2 separate regions of the Homo sapiens genome follow, and region 2 is linked to region 1. The links are contacts of gene promoters, found by promoter capture Hi-C in blood cells and fetal thymus (Javierre and others, 2016). All regions are on one chromosome and are shown on one strand. The core of a region is centred on a gene start or on the middle of the fragment in contact, and the rest is flanking DNA. Distances in the headings are between cores, read along the strand shown. Region 1 holds the start of GSN-AS1 (GSN antisense RNA 1). Region 2 overlaps FBXW2 (F-box and WD repeat domain containing 2).

Region 1 (4,034 bases), core at 1,180-3,679:
TGCTTCTGGGAGGCTGCACTGTCTGGTTTATTTCCTCTTCTCTTTTTAGTTAGGGCCCTGTTTTTCCTCCTGACTTTTTTAGTTAGGGCCCTGGTTTTTTCAGTTAGGGCCCCTCCTCTCTTTTTAGTTAGGGCCCTGTTTTTCCTCCTGTCTTTTTTAGTTAGGGCCCTGGTTTTCTTTTTCTTTCTTTCTTTCTTTTTCTTTTTTTTTTTTTTTAGACGGAGTCTTGCTGTGGTGCCCAGGCTGGAGTGCAGTGGCACGATCTCAGCTCACTGCAACCTCCTCCTCCCAGGTACAAGTGATTCTCCTGCCTCAGCCTCTTGAGTAGCTGGGACTACAGGCATGTGCCACCATACCCGGCTAATGTTTGTGTTTTTAGTAGAGACAGGGTTTTACCATGTTGGCCAGGCTGGTCTCAAAGTCCTGACCTCAAGTGATCTGCCTGCCTTGGCCTCCCAAAGTGCTGGGATTACAGGTGTGAGCCATGACGCCTGGCCCAGGGCCCTGCTTTTCCTGCCTCAGTGTTCCCTAGGATTCTGCCCACCTTCTTGTCTTGATTTATGTATATAGGTTCATTCATTCATTCATTCATTCATTCATTCATTCATATATTCATTCATTTGAGAGATATTTAGGCTCTGAGCTGGGTGTTGAAGAATCAGCAAAAAACAAGACTTTCCCATTCCTCATAGGTCTTCAGTAGATCATTATTTACACTGAAGATTAATTCTTGCTGTGAAGGAAACGATCAGGTTATGGGAGCGTTTGGGATTGGGTGGGAGTGGTGAGGTCTTATCTGGACAGATCAGGGAAGCCTCCCCTAAAAAGTGAGACCTGAAGAGGGAGAGGGAGGTGGCTGAGTGAGCAGGGAATGGAGGAGCCCCCTAGGCAGAGAGGCGACCTGGGTAAGGCTTTAGTGAGGGGGAGTCCTTGAGGAACTGAAAGAAGTGAGGGAGGCTGGCCAGGGAGGGGGGCGTGGCAAGAGGAGGGCCTGGGGGCCAGGCAGCACCTAGGTTATGTGGGCCCTTGAGTTTGGATTTTATGCTAGACCTCTGGGAACCATTGGAAGTTTTAAAGCAGGAGGGTGACTTGCCCAGATTTCATTATCAGAACCCTTGAAAGGGACAGACACAAGGACCATCCTGATAAGCCATGAGGGTGCAATTTTTGGTTCTTCCACATCAGGGTATCCTGATGCTGTGCCTTGGTACGGGGCTTGTCATTGGGCAGTCCTGGGAAATGTGCACTTTCCCAGGATTCTCTCAGCTCTTTGCATTTTTTAGTTTACCCGGCCAGTCCTTGCTAAGCTGCTGCAGTGGAGAGGGAGGTGAAGCAGACACCACCGGGCCCTCTGAGATCCACTCTAATCCAAGACGGAGACAGTGGAAGTTAACGCCCAGAGTGCTCTGTGATAAGTGCCAAGGGGCTCAGGGAGACAAAGAGTGCTTTTCCTTACTTGAGAGTCAAAGAAGGCTGAGAAGGGGGAGTTGGGCATTCCAGGCAAGAAGGCACCGTAGGCACAGGCTTGGCCGCTGGAAGAGCCCACTGCGCCTGGGGGCTAGTGAGCAGGAGTGTGAGGGTTGAGGTGGGGAGCTGGTTAGAGAGGTTTTGAATGCTGGGTTTCTATCCTCTGGGTACCAGGGAGCCATGGACAGGTCCTCAGCTGAGGAGTGACTTGATCCATGGGATTTCAGAACAATTAGTCCATGGCAGGCAGAGCGGAGGGTGGATCAGAGGACAGCAGCACTGGGAGCTGGTTGGAGAGAATGAGTACCATTGCTGAAGCCTTGTCACTCCCCCCACCGCACACACACAGCAACATCCTCAACGCCCCTTTCTGTTCCATACCTCTGTTCGGTTATCCCCGAATTGGCCGGCCAGCCTGAGCTGTCCAGAGCCCTTTCACAGCAGCACTGGGGTGTGTTAAACCCTGGGCTCCAGAGGCAAACAGGTCTGGGCCTGAAACATCACCGTAGCCCTGACTTGCTCTGTGCCCTTGGACAAGTCCCTTACTCTTCTCAGCCTCAGTTTCCACATCTGTGAAATGGGGGTGATAATGGAGTTGGTGATGATTAAACAATGGGGAAATCAAGTCCTTAGCACATGTCTGGTGTATAACGATGGCTGTGTTAGCTTTGTGTCCTTGTTGATTGTAATGGCCCAGTCCATGTTGTAATCTGCCCCTCAGGGAGTTCTTGTCTTTGGACATAAATCTGAATTCTCAACTAGAAACAAGATGTCCCCAGCAGCCCCAAAGGAAGCCTCTAGTGGGACACTGAGGGGATTGGACATGCTGTTACCCACTGGGACCCGGCACAGGGCTGGGCACACAGAAGCCTGGACTGGGTTTTATTTGTTCCTTTATCCCCAGCACTCAGCACAAGGCTGGTACAGCATGGCCAGGTGGCTGGGTTCTCAAAAATACTAAACAAAAAAATGAAATTAAAAAAAAATTATTAATCTTGGACATCATCCCCCAGCACCTTTATTTTACAGCTGAGGAATCTGGGGCCCAGAGAGGAACAGTGGCTCATCCAAGGCCACTCAGCTCCTCAGTGGCAGGCCCTGAACCTGTTCATTTCTCCCTGCTCACATGTTTATTACAATTCTAATTTTTGAAATCCTGGTAAGTTAAAAATGGCATCATGTCCCACCTCCCTAATTTACCTTTGGGGAAACTGGGGCCCAGAGAATGGTAGTGACTCCTTCAGGTCCTCAGAGAGGGAGAAGCAGGAAAAGGGCCTCCTCTCCACAAAGCATACCCCCACTAATCAGCAGTAGGCAGGCAGGTTCTTCCCCCCAAAATTGACGGCCTTGTGCTTAAGGAAGCAAAGTGGAGTGTGAACAATAGTTTCCTGAGGAAGTGTTGGGTTTTAATTGTGTTGAGGAGAAGAACCATTTCCGGAACTGTGTGTGCCTGTGATGCCTGCGGAGTTGGCTTGGCACAGCTATTTCCAGACTAATCCTGAGTCCTATTTATAGGCTGAGATGATTAGGTTGGCCTGTGTCAGGAGAGGCCCACATAGCTCCCCCCAGCCTCGCGATGGCCGAGGAAGAAGCCCTCAGGGGCAATTCTGACCCATGGGTGAGTAGCACGGGATCTGGGGTGGTCCCCGAAGCCAGCTCAGAGGAGGGACGCCAGGGAGACCCGAGGGAAAGTCCCGCTCCTGACTCCTAGTTCAACACCAGCCAGGCCCCCTGCAGAGATGAAACCAGTTCCAATTCTATTCTCTCCCTGCTTAAAAATCCTCAGTGTGTCCGGTCAGGCCAGGACTCCGTAGCAGTCAGACCCCTTCTCCCCGAGGTATCCACTGTCTCAACCCCAGCCATGCTTCTCCAAACTGTTTACGCTTCCTTGTGCAGGCCACACCCCCAAGCCTTTGCGTCTGTTGTTCCCACCTTCCCAAAAGGGAAACTCCATTTATCCTCCAAGGCTCTGCCCCAATGCCCCTCCTCCGTGGCTCTGTTGGGCCATGGGTGCTCCCTCCTTTGTGCTCCCAGGGCCCACAACTGCTTGAATGACTATTGGTGTTCCTGTTTGTGTGCCCTCTGGGCCGGGAAGTCAGAGAAAGAAAGGAGACAATTTGTGATTGAACAGCCACTGTGGCCATCATTCTCCTTACCTGTCTGATGAGAGCTGATCTTCATGCCACTGTGTACAGTAGGTATTTTTTAAAGGTGTGTAGAAGTGAGAGTCAGACTTCGGACTTCAGAGTCAGACAGCCCTGAATTCCTAATGGTGTAACCTTGGGCTGAACCTCTCTGAGCTTTTGTTCCTCCGTCTATAAAAGGAGACAATGCCAGCCATGGGTTTTGGGGAGGATTCAACAAGACAATGCTTATAAAGTACTTATCATCACAATGGGCTTCTATGAGCATAGGAGGTGTTATTTGCAGATGGGGACGTTCATTCCGGGGACGTCCCTATCTAGGGCCCCACACAAGGGAGTGGCTGAGACTCCAAGTCTTGGAGCCTCCGACTCCACCCTGTGTTCTCCCTCCCCTCCCTCTCTTGGCCCCCTGGGCCTATTCTC
Region 2 (3,759 bases), core at 142-2,641, 520 kb before region 1:
CCCCGTGTGAGGAAAGTTGCTGTAACAACATCATAGCACCTTTGCTTCAACTTCAAAAGAAAAAAAGGCTATGGTAAAAAGCTTTAATAACAGACAATGTGATTTCATAGGCAACCAATTAGCAGATTAATGGATCATTTAACTTTCTTTACTTAAAACCAATACTCCACTCAAGAAAGATGAACCCAAAATGCATCCTCTAACACTGACCAACATAACTAAGTACAAATGAAGTCAATGGTGTACCCCATTAGCATGCTGCGTTGTATGTCAATAAAACAAGCCCTCCCCCACCCCGAGCCCTGGCCCCTGGCAAAACATAGATAAATGATTGTGCACTGCGTGATGATACCATTAGGTGAGAACTTTGGTTCATGCAGTCGGCTGCCGCAGAGGTTGCACCCAAAACCCGCAGCCCCGGCACCCAAAGTCAGTCAGCGGTGGTGGCTCATGGTGTCAGCCGTGCTCCTTCCACAACACCAGGTGAATACTGTGGTCAGGCATGCTGGTGGCAAAGACCAAGCCCGTGTCATTGTGCCCATCCAGTCCATTCAGCCAGGATGCTTCGCCTGCCAGGAAGCTTGAGCCTCTCTTTGATTTCCTGTACTCTGGCAGAGGCCAGCGACTAATCAGGCTCTCTGTCCGCAAGTCCATGATGTACAGGTAGCGGTTGTCAAACAGCAGGGCAAAGATATCTCCAAAGCCAAGCAAGGCCAAGTTTGCTATCTCAGGAGTCTTGATGACCCTACAAGGATGAGAGTTAGGGACTGTGAAAGAAGGCAACCTTGCTTCTGTTTATGCTACTGTAATCTTTTCTGGAGATATTTAAAACCAATATTAAATTCAAGCAAATTTAGAGTTAAATGTTTTTGATAAAAAGTAAAATATAAGGAGAAAAGCTCAGCCCACTTATAAAAAAGCCGGGAGCGGGAGAGGTGCGTTCAGTCATTATATAATATTGGCATGGAAGGGAAAGGTGGTGTTTGATCAAAGTTTTTTTTTTTTTTTTTGAGACAGGGTCTCACTGTGTTGCCCACACTGGAGTACAGGGGCGTGATCTCGGCTCACTGCATCCTCCACCTCCCAGGTTCAAGTGATTCTCCTGCTTCAGCCTCACAAGTAGCTGGGACTACAGACGGCTGCCACTGCACCTGGCTAATTTTTGTATTTTTAGTAGAGACGAGGTTTCACCATGTTGGCCAGGCTGGTCTCGAACTACTGACCTCAGATGATCTGCCCACCTCGGCCTCCCAAAGTGCTGGGATTACAGGCGTGAGCCACCGCACCCGGCCTGATGAAAGTTTATAAAAGTACAAAACATCTATCCAGGCTAGAAAGGATCTTACAGATAACATTTAACTAAACAATCTATTTTTAAGCTGTGAAAACCAAAGCTCAGGCAGAGTAAATGCTTTGGCTAAGGATTCACAATTTGTCAGTTACCAGTGAGAACTAGAAGGCAAGAGTTAACTCTTACCACTAGGTAAAAAGATGTATTCATCAACTCCTAGAATACTGGAACACCCTGAAGCCCAGAAGAAACCTGAAAGCCAAGTGACTAAAGTGCTACTCTACTCAGCAGGCAGCAAACAAATGGGTTTCTCTCTAAAAACAGTAAAGGCTGAAAATATTTAAAGTTTCCCAAATAACTTAGAAACATTTATTAATAATAGATTCATAAAAAGTTATTATGAAAAAAACTAGGGAAGAAACAACTAGGGGAAGCAGAGAAAAGTAGGGAGTTGGGAGGACAGCCCTAACTTTCTCAGAGGCAGTTTCCAAGACATCAATGACAAAGGCTAGGAGACACCTAGCTAAACAGCAGCACAAAGGAAAACAAAAAACAACTTAGCTTCTGTTGTCTGCGCCCTTAGTGAAGCAAAAGATTAACAAGAAAAGCTGATGTCCTCTTTGGAGGAACTAAGAGCTGAGCTACCAGACAAGCAGTAGACAAATACTGCTCTGTGACATATGGTGGGGCTCCTGTGGGAGGAGAGTTTAGCCTAGGTTTTAAGGACACCACCAAACTAGTATAGGTTCAAGAGAGCAACCAGAATGGGAGGACCTGGAGACCAGGACAAGGAAGAACAGCTGAAGGCTATCAGCTGAGATGGGGAAGGAAAGAGTTGGCAGGCATAGGGTAACTGTATATGAGGATCACTTCTGAATAGTGAAAGATGTGTAAGAGACAGCCCAGACATTATAAGCTTTAGAAGACAGAACTAGGATCAGAGGCAAAGAGTTACAAAGGAGCCAATTTCAGTCTCATATCAGGAAGGATGGGGGACATTCAATATTTATCAAGCATTTACATGTGCAAGGCACCGAACTTCATAATTAACATGTTATCTTTTTTAATTATTTTTATTTATTTATTTATTGAGATGGAGTCTCGCTCTGTCACCAGGCTGGAGTGCAGTGGCGTGATCTCGGCTCACTGCAACTTCCACCTCCCGGATTCAAGCGATTCTCGTGCCTCAGCCTCCCGAGTAGCTGGGATTACAGATGCCCGCCACCACGCCCAGCTAATTTTTGTATTTTTAGTAGAGATGAGGTTTTACCATGTTGGCGAGATGGTCTCGATCTCAACCTTGTGTTCCACCCGCCTCAGCCTCCCAAAGTGCTGGGATTACAGGCGTGAGCCACTGCACCCAGCGTGTTATCTCAATCCTCATAATGCAGTTAGGTAGAGGTATTCTCTCCACTATATCAGTAAACAAGACTAAAACATCTTGCCATGAGTCATACAGCTAACATAATGCAGGCCTAGCAAATGTTTTCTGAGTATCATAGGTGCTGAGTGCTGGCTGGGCCCCTGAAGAGAGATAAGCAAGATAGTCTTTGCCCCTTAGAAGGGGAGGGCATAGCATATAACTGCCAGAGTATGTGAGAACATGCTCAGCACAAACACTCCAATGGATATAACAGGAGTATCAAGGAGTGAGCAAATCTTTCTGTCTTTTATAGCTGGACCTGGAAGAATATTTTTTCTCTTTCTTGAAGAAGAAATGCAACTGGGCAATATAGATAGAATACGGAAAGCCTGTCTAAATTTTACAAATTCTCTCTCATGGGCATGTGTTTCTCTTATAATTAATATCTGAAAAAAAAATCTATGATACTAAGAATATCAACAAGACATCACTTCTATGAAACTAAGAAAATAGTTAACAGGTGCTGGCCCCTGCTTGAAAAGCAGAGAGTAAGCTCACCTTCCCAGACTGAAAATGGAAGAAACTTCTGCTAAAAGAGGTAGACATTTAGATTAGATGACATGTTTGAGAACATCCAAAATCAATCACTGAACACTCCCTATGGTGTCAGCCTTTATAAACAGGTTTACAAGATGGAGTCTGATCCCAGGGAAAGCAGTAAGTTCAGATTAACTTCAAGTAAAGGGGAATCAGAGGTCCCAATATGTGTGTTCCAAATGAGTTATAACTGATAACTCATCCATCATTTTCTACTTAGATGACTCATATTCATTCACTCAACAAATATTTACTAAGAGCCTAAAGTGAGCTAGCCAATGTTGGTACCAGGATTTCGGCAGTGAATAAGACAAAGTTCCTCACACTCAAACTATCCAATACTGAATTTCCTAGTCAAACCTGTTTTTTCTATTTCTTTACTTGCTCATTCACCCAGGTGCTCAAGCTAGGAAACGTGGCAACCATCCAATTCTCCTCCTCCTCCTCATTCAAATCACAAATTCGATCACCAAGCTCTATTGATTTTATGCCCTAAATTTTTCTCTAA

The links. Contacts are between HindIII fragments. The CHiCAGO score rates a contact against its expected background, and 5 or more counts as called.
Region 2: a fragment that was not itself captured here is called in contact with the fragment with the promoter of GSN-AS1 in region 1 in 1 of 17 cell types (total B cells); the score reaches 5.2 in total B cells.

The regions. Positions count from the first base shown.
Region 1 is chr9:121,283,101-121,287,134 of GRCh38, forward strand. GSN-AS1 (GSN antisense RNA 1) reads right to left here and starts at 2,430. Exons shown (of 1, transcript NR_103560.1): 1 at 1-2,430. All of the region lies in intron 2 of GSN (gelsolin), which reads left to right. RefSeq lists enhancers at 1,657-2,157, 2,972-4,034. The HindIII fragment of the contact is 6,763 bases long and covers 1-4,034 here.
Region 2 is chr9:120,764,103-120,767,861 of GRCh38, forward strand. FBXW2 (F-box and WD repeat domain containing 2) reads right to left here. Exons shown (of 8, transcript NM_012164.4): 8 at 1-745. The coding sequence ends at 457. Among named protein-coding and RNA genes, the nearest start is that of FBXW2, 27 kb to the right of the region's middle. The HindIII fragment of the contact is 1,627 bases long and covers 579-2,205 here.